2 separate regions of the Homo sapiens genome follow, and region 1 is linked to region 2. The links are contacts of gene promoters, found by promoter capture Hi-C in blood cells and fetal thymus (Javierre and others, 2016). All regions are on one chromosome and are shown on one strand. Each heading gives the region's core, a stretch centred on a gene start or on the middle of the fragment in contact. The rest is flanking DNA. Distances are from core to core; before and after follow the strand shown.

Region 1 (4,774 bases), core at 1,731-4,230, 91 kb before region 2:
TTCCAAGTGTGATTGCAATGATTTGTTAAAGCATTTTTTGTTGGCTGCTTTAAAATCCTTGCCAAATAATTCAATTTCTGTGTTATCTTCATGTTAGTGTCAGTTGATAGTCTTTTCTTGTTGAAGTCAAGATTTCCCTGGTCCTTGGTGTGATTCGTGATTTTCTATGGTATTCTGGAAATTTTAGATATGAGACTCTGGATCTTATTTAAATCTTGTGTTTTAGAAGGCCTCTTCTGATACTGTGCCATTGAGGGACAACTTCATTACTACCAAATGGGGGTGGAAATCCAGGTTCCCTGCTTAGCTTCTATTGACACTCTAAGAAGGAAGGGTACCTTGTTATTGCTGAGCAGGGGTGGGTATTCAAGATCCCTACTAGGCTTCTTTTTATATCTTCCTGGTTGGGAGGAGTAGGGGTTCCTTGTTACTGTTTCCCATGTGGTCTTACCTCAGTAAGTGATGGTGAAAGTCCCAGTTTCCTACTTGGCTTTCACTGACACCACCTTGGCACCTTGCCAGGAGTAGGAGAGGTGGTTGGAGGTTATACCCGGGCAAGAGTGAAAGTCCAGGCTCCCTATGTGGTCTCTACTGACACCATGGGGGAGGGGTAGGCCTTGTTACTGCTGAGAGGGGAAGAAATTCCTGGCTTCCTACTGTTTTCTCTGACACCACCTCAGCATGGGAGGCGGGGAGGTTGGAGCACCTTGTTACAGCTGGGTGAGTGTAGAAGTCTTGGCTCCCCAGTAGGCCTTTGTTGGCAAAGGTCAAGTGGGGTGCATTTTTTCCCATGGTGTTAGGCTGGAGTAGAGGGATTATTGTTTAAAGCTTTTTTGTTTTGCTAGGCTGCCCCTTTTCCCGTCTTTTGGCTAGACAAATCAAGCTTTTTTTTTTTTTTGGTCTGCTTCCATTGGCATTTCTTGGTTGCTGGCTTCTTCAGCTCCAGGTCTAAGATATGTGAAGCAAAAAGAAAACTCAGGTTTTCTGTTACGTTTTTTCTTAGATCCCAACTTTCCTAGCCCATGTGCCTTCTTCTCTCCACTTTTCAATCTTGCTACATTTGTTTTAGATATAATGTCCAGCATTTTTAGCTGTACTGCATTGGAAGTATAGAGAAAAGTGCCTTAATATAGTTTTTAATACTAAATGTATATTTTTAAAAATGAAGTAATTCACATGTTATATTAATTTATTCAACAATTATTTAACATTCTCTCTGGCCCAGACACATGTCTATCCCATAGGCATTCAAGATGTTAAATGAGTGACATATGGTATTTGACTTCAAGGATCTCACAGTGGAGTAGGGAACACATTGTTTTTTTAAGTAGGGCAATAAAATTTATGAACCTCATGGTTCAAGGCCAGAATAAAATTTTCTATTTAAAGATTTTCAGAGAAGTCAGAAACTCCAAGTGAGAGAAAATTTTCTATAAAGGGAGAGAAAGGTAATCTAATAGCTAGATTGTGACTGAAGAAGAATAGCGTTATATAAGAGAAGTGACTTAAGGGACTGTTAGTGGGATAGGTTATCAAAAAATTTTAGTAAGAGAAAAATAATCAAGCAATGACTGTATTAAAAAAGAAGAAATAATAGTCATGATAACAATTATGGTGACAATTATAACCTTATTGATAATAGATAGGTGTTATTGGGTGTTACTGGTTATCCTTTACCTTTCTTATATTCAGTTTCCCATTTTGGAAAATGCAAAGAGTAGGTAGAGGTTTTCTAGAATTCTAACAATTCTTGGACTCAAAGCTAGGAGTTTCTTTCATTCCCCATAATTACCCCTGCTCTTATATGGGGAAGACAAAGAAAGAGATTTCAGTGAAGCAGCTGAGATTCGTGGGAGAGTTGGGTGGATTTTAACAGGCAATGTACAGACCTATCTTTCTAAACAGACTTGGAAAAATCAGAGGTGGAACCTTGTAACATTCCATCAGGGAGAAAGCATTATTTTCAATCCACAGTGCATAAGTGCTGAGCAAGTATCTGATTCCTGACTAATAAATTTTGTGTTCAACAGATCCTTGGATTTTGAGGATGAACTATTATAATTCATATAATTCAATGGTATAATTATTATACCATTCACACTTTTCCTCAGTGGTTCCCAGAGTTATTTTCAACCTTAACCTTCCCCTCTCAGCGGTAACAAGGCCTACCCCTCTCCTATGGTATCATGGAGTGAGACTTGGCCCCAAAAGGCCTGTACCTAAGTGAACATATGTCTGTATTCAGCAGGCACCCCTACTTTCCTCCTCAAAGCACCCATATCTAACTAGATTTCTGTTGGACCTGGGCAGCACAACACCAGAACTCTGGCTTTTCCAGCACCATCCTGGATCTGTTGGCCCTCAAGCTTCCTCATCCTCAAAGTCTTTTTACTCAAATACTCAATTAGTGCCTTGGCTCCTTACCCAGGCACTCAGGCTAATGTCTTTGAAGTACAGGAGACTGCTCAGAAAATAATTCAAGTGTGAGACCAGATTCCTCACTCCTTGGCTGCTGAAAGCCAACCTCTCTGAGTTGAAAGAGAGAGAGGGGGTACTCCAAGAGCCAAACTCTCCAAATACATCACAAGCTTTCATAAATTCCTTTTATTGTGGGGAACTAACAAAAGCTCAAATGAGGGAATGACGGTGCAAAGTCAAATAAAGGTCAAAGATAGGTCAAGGGTAGATAGGAAGAGAGATAAGGTGGCTGACACAGGGGCAGAGATGGCTCTATTCAAGAGCCCCTACTTCCTGACAAGATGCACAGTACAGTGAGAGAATAGCAAATAGGATTAAGAGGACAGGTTCTAAGGCTAAGCTATCCAACTGCTATACCCAGTGCTAAGTGGAGAGAATGGCACCATGAATTGGATTCTGTGTTGCCGGAAATATTCACTTGCTTCTGCCCCATCACCACACCTCTTCAGAGTTCCCAGAACATGGTGATGTGTCTACATCTAGTTTGAATAAATGGGATAGTTGGAATGGTATTGGTTTGGCATGGGGACAGTGTGTGGTAGGTAGCAGGCAGCTTAGGACTGTGATGACTTATGCCGGCACATCCAGCCAGGTGGTGGGCACGCATTAGTGAGATGACTGAAAGAATTGGTGAAACATATTTAAAAGGAGGATGTAGGTGAAGGCACTTCAGGGGTCAGCTGGGGAGCTCCAGAGGGAAGAAATGCAAGACTCTGTTCTTCTTTGGGGACTGAGATAACAGGAGCCCTTATCTCTGCGGCTCACCAGAAGAGTGACCTCCAGCTGAGCGTCATTTATTAATTATTTCCCTGGCCTTGTGCAGGGCCCAGAGTTAAGTGCTACATAACTGTCTGTCCAGTGAATAGATGAAACACTCTTGCTCAGAGAAGCTTCTTTCAAACCTTTTTCCATTTTCTGACAAACACTGTGTTGAAAAGCTCTTTCTTCCAGCACTCAGACACTCTAAGCCCATTTACTTTGGTAGCTACTCACCATCCATCCATTGTGTCTAGAATTCTACTTCATATTTCTAGCAAATCTTTATTTTAAAAGTCCAAAAGTACTTTCATATTTGTCCTGGCATTGGGTCCTCTCAGTATCTTACTTTTTTCTTCATTATAATGTGATGGTGTTTTTCTGGGGGTGGCACAGCAATACTAGGAAACATTACTTTCCAAGCATTCCATATCTAAACAAATCGCGGCCGGGTGCGGTGGCTCACGCCTGTAATCCCAGCACTTTGGGAGGCCGAGGCGTGAGGATCACGAAGTCAGGAGATAGAGACCATCATAGCTAACACGGTGAAATCCCGTCTCTTCTAAAAATACAAAAAATTAGCCGGGCACGGTGGCGGGTGCCTATAGTCCCAGCTACTCAGGAGGCTGAGGCAGGAGAATGGCGCGAACCTGGGAGGCGGAGCTTTCAGTGAGCCGAGATCGGGCCACTGCACTCCAGCCTGGGCGACAGAGCGAGACTCCGTCTCAAAAAAAAATAAAATAAATAAAATAAAAAAAACCACGAATCTCATTTTTATCTCTCCACATTTTGTCTCAAGACATGCCAATTTTCGTGGGCTACCTAATTTGAATTTCAAAACTTTGTTTTCTTTTTAGAGACAGGGTCTTGCTCTGTCACCCAGGCTGGAGTGCAGTGGCACAATCATGGCTCACTGCAGCCTCAAGCTCCCATGCTTAAGCTATCATCCCACCTCAGTCTCCTGAGGGTAGCTAGTACTACAGGCACGCACCAATGCACCACCACACCCGGCTATTTTTTTTTTTTTTTTAAGTTTTTGAAGCGATGGGATCTTGCTATGTTGCCTAGGCTGGTCTCAAACTCCTGGTGTCAAGCCGTCCTCCCTCCTTAGCCTCCCAAAGCTCTGAGATTACAGGTATGAGCCACTATGCCCAGCCCAAGTTTCAAAGGTTTTAAAGTCAAATATTCACTGAAAATATAAGTTGTCTTATTACCTCCATATTAGGTTATTTGGCCTGCTTCCCTCTGCAGCTATTGTTTATTTACTTTCAGTTTTGGAGTTAGAAGATTTAGGGGTTCAGTTACTAATTTTACAGAGAGTCAAACTGAGACAGAGTCAAACAGAGAGACCTACACTTAAGAGTGCCCATGCCAAGTCTGAAAATGAGACATTTTAACTCTTGTCCCAGTCCTTCAAGGGTAACTGGGCTCTACTTAATGGCCTATGGCCACTGATTTGAACCCACTGGTTTTGGACAATGGTCAGTTATCTACTTTAGTAGCTAAGGCAGATTACAGGTGTTTTGTTTTGTTTTTTTTT
Region 2 (5,076 bases), core at 736-3,235:
GAAGTCCAGCAAAGCTGCAAACTAAAACCACAAGTCCTGGAGAGGGCCCAGGGAATCCACAGGTGGACACTCCAGAATTCAAGGTTTCTATGTTCACTTAATAATTCCCAGGTCCCCTCAAATGGCAGTAGAAATATGTGGGGGTTGGAGGTTGGCGAGAGGATGGAACTCCTCAGTCCGAGGGCAACACTGCGAAAAGCCACATATTCTGAGTTGTGAACTTGGGGCTGGTGGCAAGAGTCGAGCTGTCCTGAGGAGCCACGAGAGGGAGCAAGCCTTGCCAGAGAGGGCATCCCAATCCCCCGTCTTCGTCTGAATCCCTCACCAGAACTGCTGAGGGATTTCGCCAGCGGCTTTGCTGGGAAAGCGAGATGGTTCCTCTGACTTCTCCCAGCTCACAGGCGGCCTCAATGAGAAGAGCGCACACGCCTGGGGTCTTGCGTCCACTGGCCTGGAAAGCGAGGGCTATGCCCCCCAACTCTGTCTGAGATCAAGTCAGCTCCAGGGGAAAGCTGGAATGGCGGGTCTGGCACTCAGGCTGTAGGCCGAACGAGGCACCCCACCGGTAGCAGAGAGGCGCGGGTTGCCGGGGAAGGCAGGGCTGAAGTTGGGGGCGGTGCGGAGTGAGCAGCAGGGCCCAGCCTGCCTGCGGCCTCACGCCTCTCTGGCAGGAGACTGCGGAGACCGCCTCCCCGCCCGCTCTGGGGCTCGGCTCATAGGGCACGGAGATCCATTCACTCCCGCGGGGCGGCAGAGGACTGCCGGGCCCAGCTGGGCCGTAACGGCGGCGGCCAGAGACGCACTCACACCCCGACTCGAACTCCCTCCCTCCCTTTCTCTCTTGCAGACACGCACGCCTGCCATGTGTTTGACTCTTCGCTCATAGTCATCAGGATTCCTAAAGTGTTTTTAACAGAAAACACCTCCGTTTCCCCAAAGGAACCGGGGGGCTGCTGCGGAGATCAGCGGTACAGTGCTTCTCTCAGAGCCCGCCCCGCCTCTCAATTCTCTCCTCTCCTCATGACTTCTCCCCACCTCCAAAAAAAAAAAAAGTCCTGCAAATATTTTCCCCCAGCACACAGGGGCAAAGGTACCTTAAACCTGAAAGGTGCATTTAGATTTGTCCCAGGGCAAAAAAAAGTCCATTGCTTGCCAAGGATCAATGAATGTCCCAGTTCGTACCCCCGGGACGCCTTGCACCTAGTCTCCCCAGTCCAAGCTGCCCAAAGCCCCGCAACCCGCACCCTAGGAGAGCCATGGAAAGGGGCAAGGGGCAAGGGGTAAGGGGTAAGGGGAGGAGTCGGAGAGGCGCGTTGGAGGGGCGCCTCGGACCGGGAGGTATGGGGTCGGTGGCAGCGGGAGCGGCCAACCTTGCCCAAAATGCCAAGTGGGGCGTGCGGGGCCACTCACCTGCTTGGAACTCCACTTGGCGATTTTTTTCCTTTTCCTCCTCTAGCAGCATGGAGTAGAGGATCCCGACAGAGTTATGGATGCCGAAGATGGAGCCGTTGCACCAGGTGGCAGCGAACACCACCACCCAGCCGAAGCCACCTTCGGGAGGCTGGAAGCCGCGCGCGGTGCCGCGGGTCTCTACCGTAGGCGTGGGCTCGGGTTCGTGCACCCGCTCGGACTCGAACTCCAGCTCCGGCAGGGGTGCGGGGTCCGGTAGGGGCTGGGGCTCCGGCTGGGGCTCGGGCGGGGGCACTGGCACGGGCTCGGGCTCGGGCTCAGGCTCCGGCTCAGACTCCGGCTCTGGGCTACCCACCGGCTCCTGCTGTTCCTGGTCTGCCTCCTGCCAGGGCCCCTTTGCTTCCTCGCTCGCCTGGCTTTGCAGCGCCATCGCGGCGGGGGGACTGTGGCTGCTTGGGCCAGAGGAGCCGCTTTGTGGCTGGTACTTGTTTCTGCTGCTGCAGCTGCTGCTGCTCGGAGGGCTGCTGCTGCCGCTGCCGCTGCCTCCTCCTCCAGGCTCCGCGCCCCAGCTGGCCAGCCCGTCCCGCGACAGACGGTCCCTCGAGCCCTCTCCTCCTCCTCCCACGTCCAACCCCCCTCCTCCTCTCCCCATGTCATCTCTCTCTCCTCCCCCTCCTCCACACCCCCCACCTCTTCCTCCCTCAACAGGCAGCCGCTACAGCCTCGCTCTTCTCCCCAGCCCTTCCTCCTCCTTTTACTCGCCTACCTACTCCAGCCGCCACTGCCTCCCCCAGCTCCCTTCCCAAACTACTGAACCCTGTTCTTGCCCGGATGCCCGTTAGAGGAAAAGTTAAAATGGAAAAAAGGAAGCACAAACTATCCTGTTCTCCTGCCCTCTTTTCCCCGCAGGCTCTAGAACCGACACTGATCAACCCCGAGCCTCGGGAAGACCCCTCCTATTTTTTGCTCCCATACCCTCCTTCCTCACAAGCAGCCCGCAACTGAGGTGGCACCGGGGACCCTAGGACGACAGCTGGCCCGCGAGGAACCCCACCCTGCCCTCAGGAGCTCCCATGTCCCTCCTTGGACTTGAGGAGGACGACCTGAGGGGACAGCCTGGGCCTCGGACAGCGGGTGGACACAATCTTCTCGAGCCCGAGGACTCGGCCCCCCGCGGTCCTGCGCACCCCCGGGAGTCTCCCCCTGCCCCCGCTCTTCCCGGCAAATCCCTGGCGGCCTGGGAGGGGAGGAGGCGGCCATGCAGCGAGGCCCGCCCCTCCGGGCAGTCAATCAGGGCTTTGTTTGCGCCAACCTGGAGCCCGGAGGAGCCTCAGAGGGCCGGGTCTGGGCCGGGCCAGGGCCGGGCCGGGTCTGGGCCGGGCCAGGGCCGGGCCAGGGCCGAGTGTGGGCCAGGAGCCGGGCCAGGAAGGGAGGGAGGTGGCACCAGTGGGGGCCGGGCCCAGGCCCAGTCGGGAGCCGAAGCTCAGTTCAAGCTCCTCCCGACAATCTGTCCCGGACTTAGGAGGAACGAGTTGGAGTCGGGTCCAGCCGCCAGTTTGGGATTGGGCTGCCCCGCCCCCGATATCTCGGCTGGGCTGGTCCCTCAGGCCTCGGCCGCGGCTTTTCAGGTGCTGGAGACTCAGCGGAGCTGCAAGCGGACGGATGTCTTCCCAGCACCCACCGCCCCCTTCCGCCCACCTCAGGCATGCAGACATGGGAGTCCCACTGTATGTCGCAGACTGAGGCCCCAGCCCCACTGAGGGTAAGGGAGAGTTTGTTCCCCAGGAAGCGCGCCGGGTCAGGGAGAAGGAAAGGTGGGGGATCTGTCTTTCTGGTGGCCGGGCACTCAGCAGGGGTGCGCAGGGGTGCCCAGCCTCAGCCCTCAGGGCCCGCTCGGCGATACCGGGAAGCTCTGCCTCCCCTAAGGGTCTACGCGTCTAATGCACTAAACGTGAAGTCGTGGTGTCGTTACCAAGCTACTCGGCTTCCACGAGCGGGCGGGCGAGTGGCAAGACCTTTCTACCCTGCATCTCATTAACCCTCCTGATAAGTGAAAGACTGCATAGCCAGAGGTGATGCAGCTCCGGGGCTGCGTGGCTGCGCTAGATGCCTGTAAATACAGTCATTAAGCACCTGAGGGCTGGCGGAGCTGGGTGGAAGGATATAGACGTCCTGAGGGGCTTGCGCTGCCATATGAGAGGAATCAGCCAAATTCAAAAATCACAGGGCCACGCCACTCAGCAGGGAAGGCATTGCCCGAACAGAGCACGTCCCTTATTGCCCTAAGGTTTATTATTACCTGCTTTTTTGCACGAAAACTGAGGCTCAACGAGGTCAAGGCATTTATTAGCCTAAGATCATGGGCCAAGTCAAGGACAAGCTAGAATTCAAGGCAGGTCTCCATATAACGAGAAGCTTCATGCTCCCTGTGTTTCACCAAAAGAGTCTAGGATTTGAGGCTCCCTGGGAGGAGACAGAGGAGGGAAGGCAGGATCTGACTGCACTATCACAGTGGGCTTCTGGAAGAGGTGGTGTTCAAGATGGGCCTGGAATTTTTTTTTTCTTTTTGAGACAGTCTCGCTCTGTAGCCCAGGCTGGAGTACAGTGGCGCCATCTCGGCTCACTGCAACCTCCGATCCCTGGTTCAAGCGATTCTTCTGCCTCAGCCTCCCGAGTAGCTGGGATTACAGTCGTGCGCCACCACACCCGCTAAGTTTTGTATTTTTAGTAGAGATGGGGTTTCACCATGTTGGCCAGGCTGGTTTCAAACTCCTGACCTCAAATGATCCACCCGCCTCGGCCTCCCAAAGTGTTGGGATTACAGGCATGAGCCACCGTTCCTGCAAGGCCTGGAATGTTGAGTAGGATTTTAAAAGGCCAAGGGTAGGGGAAGGTGGTCCCCTACATCAGAGCATGCTTTGAGCTCAAAGCACAGAGCTATAGAGTCTACTCACAGAAAGAGGGAAGTGAAGGCTAATCAGGCCAGAAAGTTAATATGTATGCCGTCTGCCTCTCCTAGGAAACGTTTACATTTTAATAAAAATTCATAATGCTTCAGCTACGAGGAGTGACAAGTCATGGACACTATGGGCACCGGGGCTTAAGGTCTGCTTTTTAGTCAGGGGTCTCCCCATACATATGACCACCTGTTGCCCCAGGAGAACACTAGTTTGGTTTCCACTTGCAGGGAACCTGATTGAAGAAGACCCTAAAAATAGTTATTTCCTACCCCGGAACTAGGAATAGACCCTGGAATCTTGCATCCATCTAGATTCTTACTATCTTGAATTCTACTTCCCTCATTGTTTAAACTGGTTTTTAGATCACTGGAATGGGAGTATGGGTGGGTGATGACCCTCACTGAGAATCTCCTGTGAATCTAGCACTGTGCTAGGCCCTTTATATATGAGATCTTATATAATCTTCATAACATTACTATAAGATTGGGATGATTTGTTCCCATTTTGTAAATGAGGAAATGGAGGCTCCAAGAGGCTAAGTTACTTGTTTTAAGTCTACAAAGCTAGTAAGAGGTAGAACAGGGATCTTTGCTCATTTGTGTGGGTTTCAAAGTATGTGCCCCACCCAGAAGACAGAATTATGTAACTGCCATTTCACCATTCTAGTAACATATGCAGTACTACCATTTCTCCCCTCTTTAGAAGA

Evidence for each region. The method cuts DNA at HindIII sites, captures the fragments that hold promoters and counts their contacts. A CHiCAGO score of 5 or more calls a contact.
Region 1: a fragment that was not itself captured here is called in contact with the fragment with the promoter of SLC16A2 in region 2 in 1 of 17 cell types (M1 macrophages); the score reaches 6.0 in M1 macrophages.

The regions. Positions count from the first base shown.
Region 1 is chrX:74,510,387-74,515,160 of GRCh38, reverse strand. The region is part of intron 1 of SLC16A2 (solute carrier family 16 member 2); the gene reads right to left. Among named protein-coding and RNA genes, the nearest start is that of SLC16A2, 91 kb to the right of the region's middle. RefSeq lists an enhancer at 4,391-4,440. The HindIII fragment of the contact is 780 bases long and covers 2,591-3,370 here.
Region 2 is chrX:74,418,402-74,423,477 of GRCh38, reverse strand. It overlaps SLC16A2 (solute carrier family 16 member 2), which reads right to left and starts at 1,985. Exons shown (of 6, transcript NM_006517.5): 1 at 1,411-1,985. The coding sequence starts at 1,840. LOC105373252 (a long non-coding RNA gene) reads left to right here and starts at 2,830. Exons shown (of 2, transcript XR_007068267.1): 1 at 2,830-3,172. The HindIII fragment of the contact is 8,329 bases long and covers 1-3,827 here.